Linked DNA regions of Homo sapiens: region 2 is linked to region 1. Evidence: promoter capture Hi-C in human tissues and cell types (Jung and others, 2019). All regions are on one chromosome and are shown on one strand. The core of a region is centred on a gene start or on the middle of the fragment in contact, and the rest is flanking DNA. Distances in the headings are between cores, read along the strand shown. Region 1 holds the start of GSS (glutathione synthetase). Region 2 overlaps EPB41L1 (erythrocyte membrane protein band 4.1 like 1).

Region 1 (6,853 bases), core at 2,624-5,123:
GGTGAAACCCTGTCTCCACTAAAAATACAAAAAATTAGCTGGGCATGGTGGCATGTGCCTGTAATCCCAGCTACTCGGGAGACTGAGGCAGGAGAATTGCCTGAACCCGGGAGGCAGAGGTTGCAGTGAGCCAAGATCGTGCCACTGCACTCCAGCCTGGGTGACAGAGAGAGACTCCATCTCAAAAAAAAAAAAAAGAAAGAAAGAAAAAAAATAAAATGAGGAAAGTGGGATTCGGAGAGGTGAGATGACTTCTGCACAGTCAGGATTCAAACTCAGGTCTGAGACACCAGAGGCTCAGGGCAAATCATCTCCCTCTGCTCCGGAATCTTCAGCAGGTTCCCTACAGTCCACTACATGGACTCCATCCTTGCCAGGGAGTGAGGATCCAGCAAAGGCCTGGGGCCAAAAAGACCCTGGGCAAGTTCCCCAATCCTATGTGTCTTGATCTGAGATCCCCAAGTGAGCCTGAGAAGGTCTGTGAATTCCTCCACGTAGCTGATGCAAAATTTTATACTAATGGATCTCAGACGAGTCTATAGCCTCAAAAGTAACAAACCACAGACTTGACCTGACTTAGCATGGTTTCTTATTCACCCAATGGAGATACGATTTCTACCTTGAAAGGCTGTGAAGGGATTAAATGAGGTAATTTGTGAGAAGTACTTGAAACATCCTCAGCTTTCATTAAATGTTGGTTTCCTTCTCTTTCTCTCTCCCCAAACTATTTCCATCAGTTAGCAAATATTATTGAGCATCTGCCACGTGGCAGGCACCAGTCAGGTCCTGGGGGTAAAGTGGTGAACAAGACAGACATGGCCCATTTTCATGGGGCTCACATTCTAGCAGAGGGAAACAGCAAACAAATAAAAGCAACAATTTCAGATATGAATAACTGCTATGAAGAAAATACAAGGCCGGGCACGGTGGCTCACGCCTGTAATCCCAGCACTTTGAGAGGCAGAGGCGGACGGATCACAAGGTCAGGAGTTTGAGACCAGCCTGATCAACATGGTGAAACCCTGTCTCTCCTAAAAATACAAAAATTAGCCGGGCATGGTGGCACGTGCCTGTAATCCCAGCTACTCAGGAGACTGAGGCAGGAGAATTGTTTGAACCCAGGAGACAGAGGTTGCAGTGAGCCAAGATCGCACCACTGCACTCCAGCCTGGGCAACAGAGTGAGACTCCATCTCAAAAAAAAGAAAAGGATAACGTGATAGACTTATAGGGTGGGGCAGCCTCCAGGGATGAAACATCTGAATGACCAAAGGAGCCAGTCATGCCAGGATTTTGGAGGAAAGCACCCAGGCAGAGAGTGCAGAAAGGGCAAACGCTCCCTGGAAAGATTCTTAGTCAAGAGTCCTTCACTCCCAGTCCTACCACAAACTGGGTCACCTTGAACAAGTCACGTAACTTCTGAGGCTCAGCTGCCACATCTACAAAATGGGAATAAAGACATCTTACCTGCCACATTGTGAGAGGTTTCAACCAAAGGGCTGTTAAGGTCTGGGATCCTCCCCAAATCTCACCATAGACACCTGATACTCATCACTTGGCACCCGTCTTGGAAGAGGGGAACCTGCACAGAGAACCCTGGGTCATGCTTTTGATTTTTAATTTCATGCTGCACTAGAAATAGCTTCTTTTGTTCCTGGTTGACCCAGGAGCCTCTTCCTGCCACCTGGGGCCTATTCTAGTTAACAGCTGCTTATCCCCTCAGGTACAAAAGCCAACGAGGAAAGGACATCAGGAAACATTGTTCTGGGAATAACCAGACACCTATCTGCCACCATCTCCCCCCATCCCGTGACCACACACGGGAGACTGGAGGACTCAGCCTGTCCTGTAGTCAGATAATGTACATGGTTTATTTAAAGAGTCAAAAGGGGCCGGGCGCAGTGGCTAACGCCTGTAATCCTAGCACTCTGGGAGGCTGGGGCGGGTGGATCACCTGAGCTCAAGAGTTTCAGACCAATCTGGCCAACATGGTGAAACCCTGTCTCTACCAAAAATACAAAAATTAGCCGGGTGTGGTGGTGGACGCCTGTAATCCCAGCTACTTGGGAGGCTGAGGCAGGAGAATTGCTTGAACCTGGGAAGTGGAGGTTGCAGTGAGCTGAGATCGTGCCACTGCACTCCAGCCTGGGCAACAACAACGAAAACTCCGTCTCAAAAAAAAAAAAAAAAAAAAAGAGTCAAAAGGATCTTGGTCCCTGGGTTGGGCCACTGATTTACGATCACTAGGAGTTCTCACTCCTAAATTTCTTTGATCTGTTCGCTTCGCTCCATCTCCACAGCTGCTGCACTGGCTACAGCCTCATGATCTCACATCTTAACTCTCTCTGCTTTCTCTGGCCCATCTCCCCACTTCCAAACCATTTGTCACGCTGTAACCAGTGCCTAACACACAAAACTAACCATGTCCTTCCCCTGCTTAAAGCCCTTAGCTCCTGTTGCTCAGTGGAACTGGCGTCTGAGGCTACCTCTCCAAGCCTAAGCGCCTAAGTCCTGTTGCAACCCTCAGGCCCTTCCTCATTATCCACACCAAACTCCTCAGTGTCTGTAAAACAAGCCGAGCAACCCTCAGAATTATATGCCTTCGCTGCTCGTTTGTTTTGTTTTTAGGACAGGGTCTCACGCTGTCACCCAGGCAGGAGTGCTGCAGCGTGATCTCAGCTCACAGCAGCCTCCGTCTCCGGGGCTCAAGAATTCTCACGCCGCAGCCTCCCGAGTAGCTGGGATTACAGGCACGGGCCAACACACCCGGCTAATTCTTGTATTTCTAGTAGAGACGGGGTTTCGCCATGTTGCCCAGCCTGGTCTCCAACTCCTGAGCTCAAGTAATCCACCTGCCTCGGCCTCTCAAAGTGCTGGGATTACAGGTCTGAGCCACTGCACCCAGCCAGCCTTTGCTGCTTTTGTTCCTGCAATTTGGAACACTGTCCCCATCCCAGCCTCTCACCTCTACCCCTACCTCCTTCACTACCTATACCTTCCTATCCATCCTTCAAGACCCCAAAAACCATCCCTGATTCCTTCAGAAAGGCAGTTTATTGCCTATCTTATCAGACTGAAAGCAGTGGCTGTGTCTTATTTATGGTTAATTCCCTAGAAGCTGGACTGATACATTCCATTTAACTAAAATTCGTATCAGGTGCTTCGGACTGCAGACAAGCCTATCACAACCCAGAAGGAAGAAACAGGGAAGGCACCTGGGGGCTGCCAAGCAATGAGGTGGGGGGTAGGAATCATGAATCCGCATATTTTTAAAAACTGCCCCAGATCCTGATGTAAACGGTACAAGAGAGTCTGAGAAACACAGGGCTCCCCTCAAACAGTCCTGACTTCAGCATTCCTGGAAAAATGAAAATCCTTTCCTTTTGCCTCTAATGCTTTCCCTGCTGGTATCCCAGGTTAAAAAAAAATAGATAAAATCAGGGGGATTTTTCTGGGACTTGGCTGGGCTGGGAAACAAGCCTGGGTTCTAATACAGGCTCAGCCCCTGACGTACTATGGGCCCCTGCCCCTCCTTGGGGCCTCCATTACCACGGCCACCCCCACCCTTATCAATTGTGTGCCCCTGAGGTAGTGACTGTCCCGCTCTGAGCATTAGTTTCCCCATCTTCCACTAGTCGTCGTCAGCTCTGACGCTCTATGAGCTATGCATACCCGTAGCTCCCCGCCGACCCCGATGGTCCCCTCCCCTCCTTCCCAAGGTCCATCCGCCAGGGTGCAGCCGACGCACTCCTAATGCTAAGGCCGCCCTCTCATCGACCGCCCCTTCCTGGCCTCGACTCAGCGCCAAAGGTATGGGTCTCTGCCCCGCCTGCTCTTTAAGCCTAGCCGGGGCGGTCAGCGCAAGCGCACTGGGTCGCATCGAGGCCCCGCCCCCTGAGCCTGGGTAGCGGCGCGAGGGCCGGGAGAACCGTTCGCGGAGGAAAGGCGAACTAGTAGGTTGGGGCGGCCACGGCGGCCGGCATGGGTCACGTTTCCTCGGGAGGAACGATGTGAGGGAGGGGTCTGGCAAGAGATTGGAATTCCGGAGGCCGGGAGACCTTGTGGCTGAAACCCTTCGTAGGAGCGGGGCAACTAGTGTCTAGTGAGGGGGTTGGGCTGGCGCGCACTGATCCCAGACTTTCCGGATCTTCTGCCTTTAGATCGGGCCGGTGTCGGGGCATGTAGGCCAGTGAGACTGGAGCCAGTTAGAGCTACAACGGGGAGCGATTAGGGCCAAACTTTGTCCAGGGTGGAAGCGAGCGGGCCCGTGAAGTGGGGCCAGCCTGGGCAGCCGACCGTGTCGTTGCCTCGGGGCCTTTCCAGGCACTGGCCTAAGTCCTGGCGATAAAGTGCGACCGATTTCCTTGTGGGCGTTTTGAGGCTTTCGGTGATCTGACCCGTCTGTCATTCATTCTTCATTCATTCATGTGATGAATGAATACAGTACTAAGCGCGGCTAATTACTAGGTAGAGAAGTGATCAAGACAAACACTGTTCCTACGGTACAGGGAAAAGTGATGGGCTGTAGAATGTAGAAGCCCGGGGCGGAGAACAGGGACAGCTTCCGGAACGAAATCGCGAGCCCAGATCAGGAGTGGTGGCGAGAGTTCCAAAGAGAAGACAGCACGTGCCAAGTCCTGGAAGGGGGACAGAGGCCAACATATCCTGGTCACTGAAGACACCTGACTCTGAATCTGTTTCACGCCCAGGGAAGAGATGACAGTGGCCGGGGCTAGGCTACAAACTCTGGAAATGGAGATAAATAAAGGAATTCAAAGTACTATATACTTAGGCAGCAAAATCCATAGGATTTGGGGAGAGTGAGATGTAGGAAACAAGTACTCAAGGCTTGGGTACCTGGGTGGGGTTCATCAGAGAAGAAGCAGATTTGTGGGAGACAACAACAAATTCTATTCTGGTTGTATGGAGACTCGCAGGAAAAAATTGGATATTCTAGTTTGAAGGTAGGAAAGTATTGCTGTGAAGATGTAGATTTGAATGTCATCAGCAAAACATAAATAAAGCCAAGGGAGGGTTGAGGCTGTAGAATGAGAAAAACAAAGGGCCCACTTAGCACCTTCATCTGATTTCTTTTCTTTCTTTCTTTTTTTCTTTTTTTTTTTTTTTGACAGAGCTTTGCTCTTGTTGCCCAGGCTGGAGTGCAATGGCACGATCTCGGCTCACTACAACCTCCACCTCCTGGGTTCAAGCTATTCTCCTGCCTCAGCCTCCCAAGTAGCTCGGATTACAGGCATGCGCCACCAGGCCCGGCTAATTTTGTATTTTTAGTAGAGATGGGGTTTCTCCATGTTGGTGAGGCTGGTCTCGAACTCCCGACCTCGGGTGATCCGCCTGCCTCGGCCTCACAAAGTGCTGGGATTACACGAGTGAGCCACCACACCTGGCCCATGGTGATTATCTTTATGTCTTATCCTCCTCCATATCCCCAGTACCTAGTCAAGGGAGTGGCATTAAATGCAAATCAGTGTTTGCCAACTAAATAAAAGCCCAACAGCAAACAGATGTTGGAATTTCAGAGTTGTGGAACGATGGGGGCTCATGGAGGGTTTCATTACTCTAATGTCAAGGTAATGGGTTCTTGTCCTGGCTCTGCCACTAGGCTTCTGTGTGACCTCTGACAAGTCTCCTCCTACCTATAAAGAGAGTACAGCCAAAAAATGGTCTCATGTATAGAGCTTCAAACACTGCTGATAAATTTCACACTGATTTTTCTCTTTTAATCCACACAGCAATCTTACTTGAAAGGGAAGTCGGCTGGGCGGGGTGGCTCACGCCTGTAATCCCAGCACTTTGGGAGGCCGAGAGTGGGGGATCACGAGATCGAGACCATCCTGGCTAACACGGTGAAACCCCGTCTCTACTAAAAATACAAAAAATTAGCCGGGCATGGTGGCAGGTGCCTGTAGTCCCAGCTACTCGGGAGGCTGAGGCAGGAGAATGGCATGAACCCAGGAGGCGGAGCTTGCAGTGAGCCGAGATCGTGCGGCTGCACTCCAGCCTGGGCGACAGAGCCAGACTCCGTCAAAAAAAAAAAAAAAGAAAGAAAGAGGGAGGGAGAGAGAGAGAAAGAAAGAAAAAGAAGGAAGGAAGGAAGGAAAGAAGGAGGGAAGGGAAAGGGAAAGGGAAAAGGAAGGAAGGAAAGAAGGGAAAGGGAGAAGTCGTATTATTATGGACTCAAACCCAGGTCTGTCTGTCTGTCTGACTTGAACCTTGTTCTTTACTATGATTGCCCTCATGTATGTCTCACTCAACAGGGATATTATCAGGACCCTCTTGAGATCACATGCGCATTCTTTCAAAGCATTGTGCTGAGGCTGGCAGACTTTCATAATTGGCCTGGCACTGGCTCTGTCATGGGGACAGGGGGACAGAGCTGAATGTGATGGAGGTTTCCTATTATTCTCTAACTCCCTTCCTGGGGACCACTGAGTTGGGCAACCATGTTCTGTTAAATGGCAACAGGGCAGAACAAAATTAGTGACTGTGTTTCCAGATTTTTACCCAGATCTTAAACTCCTGAGGCCTGCTGAAAAATGAATGAGTATCAGGGTGTGAGTTTGTACACCTCTGTATGTCTCTGGGCAACCAATCAGACAACTTCTCCTATTACATTGGACACTTGGGTTTCAGCAATTTCCATCTTGCTAATGTGATTTCTCAAAAATATTTTCTGTCTTTTGGTGCTTTGATGATAAATGTCCATATATGGAATGTAGTCATTTCCTGCTACTAAGATTCCTTCTGGTTTGTATAAGGGAGGAGTTCACCTTATTCGCATTTCATGGTATTCCACAAAGAGCTCCCTCCCCCTTCCCATGTAATTTATTTGAGAT
Region 2 (6,517 bases), core at 3,686-6,185, 1.2 Mb before region 1:
GGGCTGGGGCTGGCCCAGCACACTGTCAGCATCTGACCCTCTTCAACACCCTAACCACCTTCTGGCTCCTCTAGCTCACCTTCCAGGGGCACTCAGCAGCCTTCTCACCTGTGGCTGTTTATCTGGGTGGCCTGCAGGGAGAGGGTGTCCTAGCCCAGATGAGGCAATATCCACTCAGCCTGGCAGTGAAACCACTCCTTAAAAAATGAATCAACTGGTGTCCGGTTTATACATCAGGCCCTCTAACCAGGGTTAGCATGAGTCAGCATCTCTGAGTCCAGTAACTTGGATTTGCTTCTTTTCTCCATCACCATTGCAACTGCCTAAATCTAAGCCACTATCAGCTTGTTCCAGGGGCTGCCCCAGCCTGCTCCATGGTCTCCCTGTGACCACTTGGGCCCTCCTAGAGTTTATTATCCACAAAGCAGCCATAAGAATCTTTCCAAAACTCTCAATGGACACCCTCTTTATTTATTATTTATTATTATTGTTATTATTATTATTATTAATATTATTGGAGATGGAGTCTCACTCCATGGCCCAGGCTGGAGTGCAGTGGCATGATTTCGGCTCACTGTAACCTCCACCTCCTGGATTCAAGCAATTCTCCTGCCTCAGCCTCCCAAGTAGCTGAGACTACAGGCACCCGCCACCATGCCCAGCTAATTTTTGTATTTTTAGTAGAGATGGGGGTTTCACCATGTTGCCCAGGGTGGTCTTGAACTCCTGAGCTCAGGCAATCCGCCCGCCTCAGCCTCCTAAAGTGCTGGGATTACAGGTGTGACCCACTGCACCCAGCCAGATGCCCTCTTTAAAACCCCCAAGGGCCTCCCATTAAAATAAAACACAAACTCTTTATCAAAGCTACAGACCTCTGTATATGGCTGTTGCCCATCTATTCAGCATCAGCTCCCACCACTACTGGTCCCCTATTCCCTCCCCAAGCCGCCACCATCACCATGAGCCTGTCACATTGGCTTTCCGTCTGTTCTTCGACTGTGCGAGGCTTTGGGGCTTTGTCCTTAATGATAGTCTGTAATGTTCCCTCTGCATGGACAGCTTGGCAGCTCCCACCTTCAGATTGTGAATCTGTGTGCCCCTTGACCACCCTGTCTAATTTATTTAGGTCCTTTCCCCTGTTTTTTTGGTTACAGCATGCTAGATTGTTTTGTTTTTGTTTCATTTTGCCATTGTTAACCATTGTTAAGGGTAACAATTCAGAGGCATTAATTACATTCACAATGTTGTGCAAAAATCACCACTATCTATTTCCAAAAATTCTTATCACCCCAAACAGAAACTTCGAATCCATTAAGCAAGCATGCTGGGTTGGGTGGTTGGTTTTCTCTTTCTTTTTTTTTGGAGACAGTCTCGTTCTGTTGCCCAGACTGGAGTGCAGTGGCATGATCTCAGCTCACTGCAACCTCCACCTCCCAGGTTCAAGCAATTCTCCTGCCTTGGCCTCCCCAGTAGGTGGGACTACAGGTGCACACAGCCACGCCCAGCTAATTATTTTGTATTTTAGTAGAGATTGGGTTTCGAATTCTTGGGCTCAGCCAATCTGCTCGCCTTGGCCTCCCAAAGTGCTAGGATTACAGGTGTGAGTCACCACGCCCAGCTGGGTGGTCGGTTTTCACAGTAATTATCACAAACTGATCTTCTATCATTGATTGATTTACTTATTTCTTTTTATCCCTCCTTCCAAAATAAACTCCATAAAGATAAGAATTTTGTCTGGTTAGCCATTATCCCCAGGGCTCAGCGCAGTTCTTGATAAATAAAAACAACATTATCATTTGTAGTCTGCTATTTGCTAGGCGCTGATCTGAGTACTTTACATCAATGAACTCACTTCATCTTCACAATAACCTATAATGGGTAATAGGTACTCTTATTATCCCTATTTTACAAAAGAAGAAACTGAAGCAGAAAAGTTAAGGAACTTGCTCCAGGTCACACAGCTAGTAAACAGCAGTGCCAGAATTCACATTCAGCAGATTTGGCATCAGATGGAGGGGTAGATGGATAAAAGGTTGAACACATGGATAACTGATGGATAGAACACAAAGAGACAATTTCTAGTCTACCCAACTGAGGATGGAGACCTGGGCTGCATTCACCTTGGGAGCCTTTGTGGCTACCAGCCAGCCTGCCTCTCCTGATGATTTATTTTATCTCAACACCTGATGTTTCCATCCAAAGTCCTGATATTATTCTCCTCATTTTACTAATGAGGATGCACACGTGCAAAGAGGCAAATGGATTTGTCCAAAGTCATAAGGCTGTGCCAGGTATCTCTGACTCCAGAGTTCTTCCCACTGTATGGCATTCCAGCAACCTCAGGGGGCTCATGCTGTACTGATTTCTCCCAGGGTTGGGGCTGGCTAAAGAAAGACTTCCCAAGATTGAAAAGGAAATATACTGGGAAGAGCTGAACTCAGAACTGGGACCACTGCTGCTTCAGTGCTTCCACTTCCGATCTGATCAGCTTTGGGCAGGTCACTTCCTCTTTCTTTCTTCTTTTTTGAGATGGATTCTCGCTCTGTCGCCCAGGCTGGAGTGCAGTGGCACAATCTTGGCTCACTGCAACCTCTGCCTCCCTGGTTCAAGCAATTCTCCTGCCTCAGCCTCCCGAGTAGCTAAGATTACAGGTGCATGCCACCATGCCCAGCTAATTTTTGTATTTTTAGTAGAGACAGGGTTTCACCATGTTGGCCAGGCTGGTCTTGAACTCCTGACCTCAGGTGATCCACCCACCTTGGCCCCCCAAAGTGCTGGGATTACAGGCGTGAGCCACCACACCCAGCCACTTCCTCTTTCTGAGCATGTTTCCTCATGTGTCAAACAGGGATGAGAGACCCTGTCCACATCAGAGGAAGGCCATGGAGATCAAGGCTATTACAGAGAATGGGAGGACTTTGAGATACAAAAGTTAATGTCCTGGGCCAGGCGCGGTGGCTCATGCCTGTAATCCCAGCACTTTGGGAGGCCGAGGCAGGCAAATCACTTGAGGCCAGGAGTTCAAGACCAACCCAGCCAACATGGTGAAACTTTGTTCCTAGAAAAAATACAAAAATTAGCCAAGTGTGGTGGTGCGTGCCTGTAATCCCAGCTACCTGGGAGGCTGAGGCAGAAGAATTGCTTGAAACTGGGAGGCAGAGGTTGTAGTGAGCTCAGATCGCACCACTGCACTCCAGCCTGGGTGACAGAACGAGATTCTGTCTCAAAAATAAATAAATAGCCAGGCGCAGTGGCTCACACCTGTAATCCCAGCATTTTGGGAGGGTGAGGCGGGTGGATCACCTGAGGTCAGGAGTTCGAGACCAGCCTAACCAATATCGTGAAACCCTATCTCTACTAAAAATACAAAAATTAGCCGGGCATGGTGGCAGGCTCCTGTAGTCCCAGCTACTCGGGAGCCTGAGACAGGAGAATTGCTTGAACCTCGGCAGCAGAGGTTGAAATGAGCCGAGATCATGCCACTGAACTCCAGCCTGGAGACAGAGCAAGACTCCATCTCAAAAAAATAAAATTAGATAAATAAATAAATAAAAAGTGAATATTCTGCTGGATACAGAGGAGACTATGTTATAGATGCTTATGACATGTACACAAGAAGCATGTCTTTGTATGCATAGGCACAGCAGTGAAACAACATGAGAACACACACAGCCACATGTATCATGCAAGCAAGGTTGTCTCTTCTAAACCCTGCACACCGATGACACCAAAGACTGTTGCCCAGGTGTTCTTGGAAATTCTGAACCAGGTGAGAGAGGAGATGGGGGGCAGGGGAGGGAGGAGACACCAAAACACCAAGAGACTCCCAGGCAGAAAAAAAGTCTCTTGTTTTGAATGATGTTTTTAATAGTCAGTTACTAAGACAACTCTTTCTGGGAAGTCAGAGGACATGTCTCTCCCATCTCCCTACAACCATGTCGCTTGGGTTGTTAGTCTCCATGTGCACCCCCAGATCCATGACCTGCTTGAAGAAGCAGGAGGCTGGCCCATTGGACTGTCCCTTGAGCTCCCTTGCCTCCTGGTTTCTGGTTCCATTTGGCCAATAGAAGACACTGGCAGGGGCCGGGCACAGTGGCTCACGCCTGCAATCCCAGCATTTTGGGAGGCCAAGGTGGGTGGATGACTTGGGGTCAGGAGTTTGAGACCAGCCTGGCCAACAAGGTGAAACCCTGTCTCTACTAAAAATATAAAAATTAACTGGGTGTGGTGGCAGGCGCCTGTAGTCCCAGCTACTAGGGAGGCTGAGGCAGACCTGGGAGGTGGAAGTTGCAGTGAGCCAAGATCATGCTACTGCACTCTAGCCTGGACGACAGAGACTCTGTCTTAAAAAAAAAATAATAAAGAAGAAGGCACTGGCAGGAATTCAGAAGGTGGAAGGAGAGAGATCCTGGGTGTATCTTCCCCAATTTCTCTCTCTGTGGTCCTGGTGGTGGCTGAGCCCCTCTGCGACAGCTCCCTGCCCACCTCTACCAGTCACGGAACTCAGGTAACACCACTCCCTCCTGCTCATTCAGGCCGAGAGCTAGTAATGCCTTCTGTCACTGTTAGTTTGTGGGTGCCTCACCATCCCATGTGGGTTCCCCTCACCCTGCTCACATCTTTATTAACATCTCCTCAGGTGAAGCATCTGAGTGGAATTCTGTTTCCTGTCAGAATCTGACTGATCCACCACCTGATGCTCACTTAGGATAAGGGGAGCCTGAGAAGAGGCAGAATAAGCTAAGAAGTCAAGGAAGGCAAGGGAACCGTCAGGAAGCCCCTTAACCTCTTTGTGCCTCAGTTTCTTCATCTGTAAAGTCATGATGATAAACTTACATACCTCACAGGCTTACTGTGAAAATGGAATCAGATCATGCCTGTAAAACACTAAACACATACCAGAATATTAGAAATATTTGCTCCAGAAATATTACTCTCCAATTAAGTCCAAAGACTAAAATGTTAACAATAGCCTTCCCTTGGAGAAGGAAATAGGGGCCTTTTTCTCCGTATTTTTCAATTTTCTACTATGAGCATGTATTACTTTCGGAGTCAGAAAAGAAAAAAGAAGAATTACAAGAAAAAAAAAAAAAAACAGAAAGAGTGCCTATTAGGGCTTATTCTTTCTCTCACTTGCTGGAGATGATGTGACTTCCTTCCCAAGGGGACTTCCCCAGTATGGAACACTCACTTCCCTGAGTGATAATGTCTACATGGACGTGAATGAAAGGATGGAGGGTACAGGCTGAGAGAGCTGCCTCTGAGACCTCAAGCCACTTTCACAGCCAGGCAAGAAGGATCAAAAAGGGAGCTGAGTCTGCAGTCATCCTGTCTGGTGCTTGGATTTGTACATGGCAGTGGGGAGACGGCAATTCGTCAGAGGTTTGCAGTACCCACGGACACCACTTTAGACCAAACAATGTGAAAAGGCCACCACCCATCAGCCTTGGCTTCTTGCCCAAAAGCTTCACGGGCCACTAGGGAGCCTCAGGCTGATGTGCAGTGGTGGGCTGGGGACCACGTGACAGCACAGAACTGCAGAGTAACAGCATTAAAACGGAGACATGCGTCCCACCTGGCCCATCCTGATGACGATGCAGAAGGCAGAGAGAGACCTCCCGTTAGCAGGGTATCCTCCGAGAGCTGGGCAACATGCTGGCTGTCTTTTGGGCTTTATCTTATTTGAGCTGCACAAGGGCCACACGGAGTAGGTGAGCTTATTTCCCAGGCGGCTTAGTGGCCAAGGCCACATGGCTAGTCAGTTTCAAGGAGAGCCAGGACTAGGACTCAAGTCTGCTGGCTCACAGTCCAGTGCTCTCCCCACTCAATGCTGCTACATCCCACGACCTCCAACTTGCTGTAAGCCATATAACCAAAGCTACTGTTGCTCTGGATGTAGAAATAATAACGGCAGTATCAATCCCTCCCACATGCAGGGCACTTTACAACTTAAAGGATCTTTTTATAATCATTTTGCTTGGACCTCACCAATTAGCCACTGTTGAGAGTGGGCAGGAAACAGCAGTTACAGACATGGGCTTATGAGCCAGAGCTGGAATCCTGATGCCACAGGCTTGGTGACCTTGGGCAGGTTACTTAACCTCTATTGAGAAGACTATCCCCTGCACCTCCAAGGTGTATAGTGAGAATTAAATGAGATAGGCAGGGTGTGGTGGCTCACGCCTGTAATCTCAGCACTTTGGAAGGCCAAGGAGGGAGGATTGCTTGAGCCCAGGAGTTTGAGAGCAGTCTGGGCAACAGAGCGAGACACTGTCTTTACCCTGTGCCCCCCCCAAATTAGCCGGGCATGGTGGGGTGCACCTGTAGTCCCAGCTACTCAGGAGGCTGAGGCAGGAGGATCACTAGAGCCTGGGAGTTTGAGGTCACAGTGAGCTGTGACTATGCCACTGCACTCCAGCCTGGGTGACAGAGTGACAGGCTGTCTTTAAAAAAACAAGAATAACGACTGGGCCTGTAATCCCAGCACTTTGGGAGGCTGAGGCAGGCAGATCACCTG

What was found. The method cuts DNA at HindIII sites, captures the fragments that hold promoters and counts their contacts. A contact is called where the count stands out against the background at its distance.
Region 2: a contact is called between a fragment that was not itself captured here and the fragment with the promoter of GSS in region 1, in 1 of the 25 tissues and cell types used here (mesenchymal stem cells).

What each region holds. Positions count from the first base shown.
Region 1 is chr20:34,952,826-34,959,678 of GRCh38, reverse strand. GSS (glutathione synthetase) reads left to right here and starts at 3,873. Exons shown (of 13, transcript NM_000178.4): 1 at 3,873-3,952. It overlaps MYH7B (myosin heavy chain 7B), which reads right to left and starts at 3,811. Exons shown (of 45, transcript NM_020884.7): 1 at 3,672-3,811; 2 at 1,467-1,581. RefSeq lists enhancers at 3,546-3,725, 3,966-4,065. The HindIII fragment of the contact is 12,827 bases long and covers 1-6,853 here.
Region 2 is chr20:36,161,708-36,168,224 of GRCh38, reverse strand. All of the region lies in intron 1 of EPB41L1 (erythrocyte membrane protein band 4.1 like 1), which reads right to left. Among named protein-coding and RNA genes, the nearest start is that of EPB41L1-AS1, 9.2 kb to the right of the region's middle. The HindIII fragment of the contact is 5,943 bases long and covers 1,964-6,517 here.